3 separate regions of the Homo sapiens genome follow, and regions 2 and 3 are each linked to region 1. Evidence: promoter capture Hi-C in human tissues and cell types (Jung and others, 2019). All regions are on one chromosome and are shown on one strand. Each heading gives the region's core, a stretch centred on a gene start or on the middle of the fragment in contact. The rest is flanking DNA. Distances are from core to core; before and after follow the strand shown.

What was found. Contacts are between HindIII fragments. The study calls those that stand out against the background at their distance.
Region 2: a contact is called between a fragment that was not itself captured here and the fragment with the promoter of PHOX2B in region 1, in 4 of the 25 tissues and cell types used here (H1 embryonic stem cells, IMR-90 fibroblasts, aorta and 1 more).
Region 3: a contact is called between a fragment that was not itself captured here and the fragment with the promoter of PHOX2B in region 1, in 2 of the 25 tissues and cell types used here (aorta and mesenchymal stem cells).

Annotation. Positions count from the first base shown.
Region 1 is chr4:41,747,176-41,750,542 of GRCh38, reverse strand. It overlaps PHOX2B (paired like homeobox 2B), which reads left to right and starts at 1,818. Exons shown (of 3, transcript NM_003924.4): 1 at 1,818-2,173; 2 at 3,007-3,194. The coding sequence starts at 1,933. It overlaps PHOX2B-AS1 (PHOX2B antisense RNA 1), which reads right to left and starts at 2,194. Exons shown (of 4, transcript NR_187403.1): 1 at 1,957-2,194. The HindIII fragment of the contact is 4,691 bases long and covers 741-3,367 here.
Region 2 is chr4:41,785,688-41,789,234 of GRCh38, reverse strand. The region is part of intron 1 of PHOX2B-AS1 (PHOX2B antisense RNA 1); the gene reads right to left. Among named protein-coding and RNA genes, the nearest start is that of PHOX2B, 39 kb to the right of the region's middle. The HindIII fragment of the contact is 3,915 bases long and covers 1-3,484 here.
Region 3 is chr4:41,706,332-41,709,684 of GRCh38, reverse strand. No RefSeq gene overlaps it. Among named protein-coding and RNA genes, the nearest start is that of LIMCH1-AS1, 15 kb to the right of the region's middle. The HindIII fragment of the contact is 4,169 bases long and covers 1-3,353 here.

The DNA of each region.
Region 1 (3,367 bases), core at 569-3,068:
AACATACAACTGCAATAAAACTATCAGCCCTCCCCATAAAACTATCACCAGGATCCTCGGTAGGTCCGGCTCCCTGCACTCCCGACTTTAGCGCTTCCTCACGCCCCGAGGATTTGCAACCACCTGAAACGAGCCTGAAACTCACCCTGCAAAGAAGCACAAGGCTGGGGGACCGCTGTCCCCGTTTAATCCATTACTGCGTCCGCGGCAGTTTAGTGCGCAATAAAACACGGTGGCAGGGGAGAGCGGGAGCCCATCCACTCCCCGGCACTAGCATCGAATTAAACCACTTAGTTTGGCAAACACTGAACGCCTAAATGCCCCTATAAAGACTTTATGAGTTTGTTACTTTAATTACTGACTTGTTACAGAGCACATAAAGGGGGTAATGAATGCAATAAAACTAATTATCTACACATTTAATTCATATAAAATATCCAGGGTTTGTTTACACCACACGGCGATTCAGCTAAGCTTTCCCCCTCTTGTCCACCGAGAGGAAGGATTTAATGAAATAGTTTCCCTTATTCTGCTAGGGCCTAACAAACCAAATGAAAATTACCCTCCGCTTAAATCATGGGGCCACTGAAGTCCACAAATCACTGCTCGCTCCTTTGTCTGTGCCTCGCTGCCAGCACCCAAAAGCCTGAGGAATCGGACAAGAAAGGTGCCCGACCTGGAGCCCTTGCCTGGGCATTTACATGGCAAGAATTTCCCTCACTACAGTCCGCAAACCTAAAAGGCAAACAGACACAATCCCCGGGTCTGTGGAGGATTGTGGGCACCTGAAAAAAAAAAAGAGGCGAGAAAGAGGGAGAGCGCCCGAAAGAGATGAAAGAGGAGATACATTTGGGTACACTTCATGCTCGCTTGCCAGTTATGGTGTAATTAAAACGAACAACCTCACAGAAACTCAAACCAACCAAGGCTTGCGCTAATGCAAACAGACAGAACTGAGAGCAAAGAACACAACGGTCGAGAATCCAGATGTTTCACATTCGAAAGCTTTCCTCAGATTTTTTTATTATTATTTTTAAGTGGCTGTATACCCTGAGTCTCTTGAAAGCACATTTAGCTGCAAGAAGAAATGCAATTTATAAGATGCTTTCTCTCTGTCTCTCTTTTTTTTAACCCCCTCTACCAGGTGTATTTTTAAAGAAATCCGCTTATCGTTCACATAAACCCCCTTGGCCCACTTACTCTATGTTACAGGGCGCCTGAGTCTTGCCAATGTCCCAGTCCTTTATAACATTTCATGCACTTCGGGGGGTAGGCTTGTTGTTAAATTGAGCGTGTAACACTCTTACAAAACAGGTTTTCTATGACATCAAGGTTTCTTCTCCCTAACCGAGGGGGAAAAAAAGAAGAGGACGAAGAAGGGGGAAAACACACACACTATCTCAATTTATGCCTAAGGTATATGATCAGTTAAAAAGGCTTAAAAGCTCGGGGAAATTGGATCAGGGAGAATCGTCACCCAACTTTCATTATTTCCAAGTAGTGTGATTGAATTAAAGGGCAGGGAGCTGGTTAGAAGGGAGGATCAGGGGCTCGGTGCGTAATGGTGTGGTATTAAATTCTAATTAGAGATGCAGGAATCAATGATAGGGAGGTTGGACAGCTCAGTTCCCCAGTGCCAGCCCAATAGACGGATGAGTTATTGTCATGTAAAAAGCGCCAGCAATAAGACCAACCGCTTTGCTATTGTCCAAGTGGAAAGAGCCAAGTTTATTATGAGGACTATATGCTCTAGAGACCTCAGACAAGGCATCTCATAGGAGGCTTTTTCATAAAACTAGGCTCTGCTGGTAGTAAGGAGGCCAGTTTGGAGGCAGGCGTTGAGCTGTGCACATCTCCCCACTCCAGCCACCTTCTCCATATCCATCTTTTATTTCATTTTTCCACTTGGCTGAGCCATCCAGAACCTTTTCAATGTATAAAATGGAATATTCTTACCTCAATTCCTCTGCCTACGAGTCCTGTATGGCTGGGATGGACACCTCGAGCCTGGCTTCAGCCTATGCTGACTTCAGTTCCTGCAGCCAGGCCAGTGGCTTCCAGTATAACCCGATAAGGACCACTTTTGGGGCCACGTCCGGCTGCCCTTCCCTCACGCCGGGATCCTGCAGCCTGGGCACCCTCAGGGACCACCAGAGCAGTCCGTACGCCGCAGGTAAGGACCTTCAGCTTTCTCAGCGGAGGAAGCCGCCTTTCCGCCCGTATATAGGAAGCCTTGATTGCATTTGAAAATGGAAATGTGTTTAGTATTTACCAAACGAAATTTGCTTACACAAATGAAAGAATTTATCACGTTAGAAGCGATTGCAGGGAGGGGTAATTCACTTACAGGGTTACACTATCCTAGTCACACCCGAACCGCCAACAAAATTATCTTAAGCTGCCAAAATGATAGGCATAATTTATTTACTTTGCGATGAGACGTAAAGCTTAGAAAATAATTAAATAACAAAGAGTAAAGCTCATTACTGGCAGTGTCTCTTTTTTTAAGAACCGACAGCGGCTCACACCTCTTTGGCTGGTCATTTTTATGATTATTTCTTTAATTTATTATTATTTTTTTGCAGCTCTTTCCCCCAACTTTTGAGCCGGGTCAACTTTCTGAGAATTGAAAAGTTCCCAAAGTGGGACTGTTTGGTAACTTCTTTCCTGGCTCCCTGATATTCCGACTGATGTTTTTGGATTTTTTTCCTCTCTGGTTTTTTCCTGCTGAAAGCACTATCTCAAGTCCGTCACATCGCGCTGTTTCAATCCACCCAAAGGCGCTTGTGCCAGAAAGGACTCCGCCAAGCCCGAAGTTTGAGCCCAGGTTTCCGCAGATAACAAATTTCCTCGGTTTCTTCCCGCAGCTTCTCTCGGCAACTCTCTCGCGCGGGTGTAGGTAGCGGCTGCCGTATGACCTGACCTTGGAGTCCTCACATTCTAGCTCCACGGCCGGCGAGCTGCCGGCTGATTTGCTCACTTTCTGTCTCCTCTGTCATACTCTAGTTCCTTACAAACTCTTCACGGACCACGGCGGCCTCAACGAGAAGCGCAAGCAGCGGCGCATCCGCACCACTTTCACCAGTGCCCAGCTCAAAGAGCTGGAAAGGGTCTTCGCGGAGACTCACTACCCCGACATCTACACTCGGGAGGAGCTGGCCCTGAAGATCGACCTCACAGAGGCGCGAGTCCAGGTACGCGCGCCTGGAAACCGACCCCGCTCCGCCGCACTGGTCCGGGGAGGTGTGGGGTGAGGGGCGGCTGGTGAAATTCGAAGTCCTGGAGCCTCGAGTGAGAAGGACCTAGGGCCCCATGGCCGATCAGAAATACTGGATTTGGTGTGGCTGTGCGTTCGAGAGAGGCTTAG
Region 2 (3,547 bases), core at 278-2,777, 39 kb before region 1:
TCATTTGGAGAATTTCACAAACATTTTGGATTTAGGAGAATTTCCACTTCCCTCCCCTACATTCAATTTTCTTTCTAAGATAATGGGGTACCATTTATTTTATGCTTGCAACAAGCCTGATACTTTGCGAAACTTCAAACTGATATCATCTCATTTAATCCTCATAACAACTCTGTGTTGGCTATCACCATTCTTACAGAAGAAAAAGCAGAGGCTATGGAAGGTGCAAAAACTTGCCCAGAGTCACATGGCGGGCAAAGGGCAGAGTCTAGTTCAGGTCAGTCTGACTCCAAAGTCCATGCTTCAACCACCTGGATATGCCATCATGAGAGTTTATGTTTAATCTTGAATATTGTTCTCTATACTTAGCTTTATAAGCATGAAGCTATTATATTACCTCCAGCGGCATCTGAAATGTCAAAATAATATCTGGAGTGGATGTACCATAATTTAAATACTCAATCTCTTGCCCCTCCTTGTTAAACATGTAGGTTGTAGAGAATGTCAGAGCAGAGATGCCCAATATTTAAAGCTCAGAGAGCGTAAGGAAGAGCATCCTATTGTGGAACCCCAGGAGTGAGGTGGTGGACAAAGTAAAAGCCAGTTAACATAAAGGGATCACGTGGAAACTGGGTCCTGGGCATCTTGCACTTTCCTAGAACCCAACATGTGGCTCCCAGGAAATTACAGGAACACTGAACAAGGAGGCTGCAGAAGGGTAACAGGAAAGGTTTGTGTTTGCATTTTCCCCACATCTGGTTTTTGCCCATCTGAACACGTCGTAGGGCTAAATTACAATGTAATAAATTACAAGGGCTTGACCATCAGAGCCTTTTTGGGGTATGGGAGGGAAACATCCAATCCTGCTTTGCTGCTAGGTCTCTCTCTCTCTCTCTCTCTCTCTCTCCCCCTTTCTCTGTCTTCTGAGGAATCTGAAGGATGACTAATAAGGGGTAAAAGAGACTCATCTTCCTCTTCCTCTCTCTCCCCCACTCCCAGGGCTGGGTCTTTCTGCCCTCAGAAACCCTTGGACGCTGTCAGTGATTGTTAGAGAGAGACTTTTCGGGCTGAGGCTTCAGACACTGCCCAAGGGCAGATTGCTGGACTCCCAGCCCGAGCCCTGCCTCACGAACAATGAAGACCCTTCAGCTTCTCCCTTCAGCTGTCTCAGGGCCATCCCGGGTGAGGTGGGGGTGGGCGATCAAGTGAACCCCAGCTCAGGAGGGCACAAGGAGGGAGGTAAAATAGCACGGTTAAAATCAGAGTCTTTTTGAACCCCGGGTTAAATTTCCAGCCCTGCCATTTATCTGTGTAACTTTGATTTGTGTTAGTTAACCTGAAAGAACCTCAGTTTTTCTATCTAGAAAATGGTGATGATAATCCTTAACAAAGAGAGGCTGAAAAGATGAAATAAAATGAAACCATTGTGCCTGTCAATCAGTGCATGTTGGCTGATATTGATATTGTCAGCCTAAGTGTATGGAAGAATTATATTCTCTCTTCTATTTTGTAAAATGCTTCTGACTATTTTTGTGTAATTTTCTACTTAGTTAAACTCATTCATTTTTGCCCGGATGGGTTAATTTACTAACCCTCCCTTACCCACCCTTCCCAAAAGCTTTTGTTCTTCTAGGTCCATGGCTTGGAGAAAGGAGACGTAGGTCTTTTTTGTTTGAAGGATACTGGGGCTTGAGGCGACCCTCAGGTGACCTGTTCCAGCCGGAGAATCTAGCTAGAGAGAAGTTTGCAGGAGACACAAGAAGCTTTTGTGACTTTTTTTGTTTGTTTATGAATATTTAAAAGCATGTGTTATTCTTTGTACGGTGTGTATAGAAGCTATTCAACACTTGCAGGTGAATGATAAGATACTCCTTTTTCAGGACAAGAAATTCCTTTGGCATTCTCATTTTTTCAGTCTTAAGAACCCAAAAGAGAAAAGTATGACTCTGAGAGGCTTCCAAATGGGAATTAACACCACTCTATGATCTGTGCAGTTGTTATTTGCAATACAACACAAGCACAGAGGACATAGGGGGAAAAAAGAAGTATAACCAAGGGACAAGATTGTAGTATATTTTCTCATGAAGAATAGAAAACAATTCTCTCCTAAAACCAGATTGAGACAGCTAATTGGAGCCTTTGGGAGACACCATTGACGAGACACTCAGAAAAGAATTACTCCATTTTGCAGTTCAGTGTGTCTCAGATCTTAGACTGACCTAATTTCAACAAAACATAATATTATGAAAGAAAAAAGTTGTATCCCAATAGTAGGAAGTGATTGTAGGGTTAAAGGGTGCCTGTTTGGTAAGTGTCTACTTCGTCTTCTTATTCCTTTAAGCTCCTCCACTCCCTGGCACTCACCCTATTTCTACTTTCAAGGATAGACTCTGACATTTCTTCTGTGACTAGAGTAAGTCATCCTTTTTCTTTCTGGAATTTGGGTTCGTAAAACTGCAACCCTTATATTTTAAAAGAGACTCTTAGGACAAAACTGGAAAAAAATTAAAGTGATGAATTGTTTCTAGAAACTATTTGATTCAGGAAACTTTAAATTACCAAGAATACTCATGGTTAATTATTCTAGATTTGGTTTACCCAAATCTCAAAATTAACTGTGCATATAGTTTGCTTGGATTGATACATGTTGATGATGTTTACCGCAAATAATCCCTCAAAGCTTAGAATCTATTTTTACTTTTTCCCCCAAGTTAGAATTTAGCCTTTGAATACATTTTGTTTATAGTTATTTAAAATTCCATGTAAGTATATAAACTCCCACTTGCTCTCGTTTCATTTCTCTGCCATTTTTGCAGGCAATTTTTACATGAAAGTTGTGTCACTCTTAACAACCTAGCCTTATTTTCTCATTTCCCTTTAATGGTTTTGTGTTCTAAGTTCAATTTAAGAATGGATTGCTTACATTTCACTTACAAATCTCCCTTCTAATCACTGTTATTAATACCACAATTTTGTTGTAATATCTGTAAGAGCACAAAATGTGTCCTCTTAAAGATGCATTTGCCAACCGCTGACTTGCATACATTTCAATTACAACTCTCCCTTGTAATTATTATTATTAATATCACAATTACTATCTTAATATCTATAAGACTGCAGAAGGTGGCCTGTCAAGGGTGCATTTACAAACAGCTTTTTCAGTTTCCTCTTAAGAAAAATGTGCCAGACTTTATCTAAATTCAACCTCCCCTATGATTTACATTAGACAACACACTCCATCAATAAAACCATCAAAATGATCTACTGCATTGTAGACAAAAGTTATTGTGTCAAGTTGACACTAATCAGTTAATTCCAGTAAACCTTCAGATAAACAAAAGCTTGTTGTCTATTACTGATGTGTGTGATGGGTCTCTTGTATATCCTATGGTTGTGCCCATCTATAGAGATGTATTTGGCAGACACTTGCCCTGAGGCATCTATATGGAAACTGAGACAAGATCTATAGTTAATGATGTTGACCCTGACTCCCCTAACAGAGACTGAATTCAAGTCCTCATAATATCTCGACAGCTGATATGTATAT
Region 3 (3,353 bases), core at 451-2,950, 41 kb after region 1:
AAGCCATGTAGATGGTCAGTGTGGAGAAAACACTCAGAAGTGTTCAGATAAAAATTTTTAAAAATCTATAATTACACTAATCAGAAATAACTGCTGTCAGTATCTTGGCATATCTAATTCAATATTTTCTTTTCAGATTGGTACATATTTATTTTGCAGAGGTTCTGAGAATATTTGTAAATTCTTTGTGGCCCTAATGCTATAGGCTAGAATTTATTTCAGGGGCAGATTCCCTCTTTTCAGAAGAGTTACTCTGATAAGCATATCCAGTAATATTGATACAAGTTAAACAAGAGGTTTTTTTTCATACTGTAGCCCTGAATATTGGTAATGTAATTCCACAACCTCAACTTTTACTATATTGTTACTAGTCCTAATGCATGGTCATCCTAATAGAAACGGCTGTTTACCATATACACTAAAATATGTCCTATTTAAAATGCATGATCCTGTTTAATCCTCACAATAACACTATATGGTATGTTTTACTATTATCCCCATTTTGCAGATGAGGAAACCAAGACACAGAGAAGATAAACAACTTGCCTGAAGTCACAAATGGTAAGTGGTGGAGCTGGGATGTGAACCTGGACATCCCAACTCCAGAGTCTGTGCTCCTTCTTTAGACAGAGATGTTAATTGAGGTGTTTAGTAAGGTAAAGGCTGTCTTTGCTGTGGGCTGGCTGTAAAAATCATAGTTATATTTGCTGGCATTATTTGGATTCCTTTAGCATGTTTAAATACAAGGGTGCTCTCCTAGGGGTAGGGGTGGAGGAACGAGGGGAGGAGAGAGAGAATAAAAGGAAACTATAGTTGGGAAAAGTGTGCCTCTCAACGTGGCAGCGGGCCAGAGGCCAGGAGCTAAGGAGGAAGGATGGACATGACTCCCTGTGAACACACATGGCCAGTGGATTTTAAGAGCAATGATACATTAATTCCAATTTGATGTTTTCCTTTCTTGCCTTGTAATCTGGCTATGCTATCCTCAAGCCATATTTAAACTTATTAAACCATGAGAGGCCCCTGTTAGCTGGTCTCTGAAGAATAAAACAGTGGTGGGTTGTTTCCATGTTTGGGGCTTCGCTGGACTGAAAAGAGGGGGAATTGCATATGGAAGGAATGACGAAACAGGCAAAAGTGACTGAAGAAGAAGCCTGGGGCAGCTACTGAGCAAGAACTGTGGGAAACAAAAACCAGGGCACTCTGAAGATCAGACATAATTGCAGAAAGGGCCAGATTTCTTGTAGTCCTGTAGAATGGAGCATGGATTTATGCCTGGATATTATGGGAAGGCATGGCCCCATAAATCTTGAAAACTGCAGATGCTCGGGTTACATATATAATACAAAACATGAGACATAGTTTATATATATATAATATATACACATATATATATACACATATATACACATATATATATAAAATAGATTTGACTTATAAAACTTGAATCACGTGCATAGTTTGATATTATGGCTTTTTATTTATTTACTTATTTTGAGACAGGGTGTTTCTCTGTCACCCAGGCTGGAGTGCAGTGGTACGACCACAGCTCACTGCAACCTCTGCCTCCCAGGTTCAGATGATCCTTCCACTTCAGCCTCCCGAGTAGCTGGGACTACAGGCTCATGCCACCACAACCAGCTAATTTTTCTAGTTTTAGTAGAGATGGGGGTTTTGCCAGGTGGCCCAGGCTTGTCTTGAACTCCTGGGCTTAAGCGATCCTCCCACCTCAGCCTCCCAAAGTGCTGGGATTACAGATATGAGCCACTGTACCTGACCTCATGCCTTTTTTAAACATAGCATTTTATTGTGGGTACTTTAATAATTTAAAGTAAATGTTTTTGAAAATGGAATTTTTCAATGGCAGAATGTTATTATAAAGATATGCCATAATTTTCACAATGATTTCCCTATTGTTAGACATCTAGGATGTTTTCCAATTTTTTGCCTATGTAAATAACAATGAGACAAGGATATCTATTATCACCAATTACTGGATAGCTTAGCAATACAATATGACATGAAAAAAATGAGAACATAAAAAAAGACAAAGTAATCTTTTTTGTAGATGATGATGATTAACATAGAAAATTCAAGAGAAATGATAAACAATGTGTAGAACTAATAAAAGAGTCCAGCAAAGTTGCTGGGTCCATGATTAACATAAAGAAATCAGTAGTATTCTTGTATATGAGCAATACTAATTAGAAAAGTATAGTCTATAAATTCAATGTTCATCAAAATCCCAAGGCATTTTAGAATTTACAAGCTTATCCTAAAATGTGTATGAAAGAGTAAAGAGCCAAAAATAGCTAAGATAATTTTGAGAAAGGAAGTTTGCTGTTCTGGACAGCAAGACTTAATATAAAAATATAGTAATTAAAATAGTGTCATAATAGTGTAGACATATATGAATATATTAATGAAATGGAATAAATTCCCAGAAACAGACTCTTAGATATATGCAAATCAGTATCCCACAGGAGTGATATTACAAATCAACAGGGAAAGGATGGGTTTTTAAGGGGTTCTGGGAAAATCGACTATCCAAAGAGGAAAAACATTAGATCCCTACATCACTTGATAAAGATCCAAATGTCAAATTCAAAACTTTAAGAATTTTAAGAGTATGTAGCAGGATACCTTTATGCAAGCAATTGATAAAAGATTGGGATCTAGAATATTTACACAACCCCTATAAAGCTGTATGAATAATAAAGCCATTTGGTTGGGTGTGGTGGCTCCCAATATTTTGAGAGGATGAGGCAGGTGGATCACCTGAGGTCAGGAGTTGGAGACCAGCCTGGCCAACATGGTGAAACCCTCTCTCTACTAAAAATACAAAAAATGATCTGGCATGGTGGTGCATGCCTGTAATCCCAGATACTGGGGAGGTTGAGGCAGGAGAATTGCTTGAATCCCAGAGGCGGAGGCTGCAGTAAGCTGAGATGGCACCACTGCACTCCAGCCTGGGTGACAGAGCAAGACCCTGTCTCAAATAATAATAATAATAATAATAATAATAATAATAATAATAATAATAATAAGAAAGCCATTCAATAGGAAAATTGGCAAATGAAATGAACAGGTAATTAACAGAAGTGGAAATTGGTCCATTTGTGTGTCCAGAAGTCCAATAGAGATATGAAAATATGCCCATTTCAGCCTCACCATTAGTCAGGAGAACATAAATTTAAGCAATGCCTTCCATCAGAAAGGCAAAAAAAATTAAGAAACCAGAGATACCAACTTTTGAGTATGATGTGGGGAAATAGGATCTTCTATGCTTTGTTAAACTATTTGGAGCAATCACTTTGGAAAGCAGTTTGTCAATATTTAGTAGGGCTGAAGGT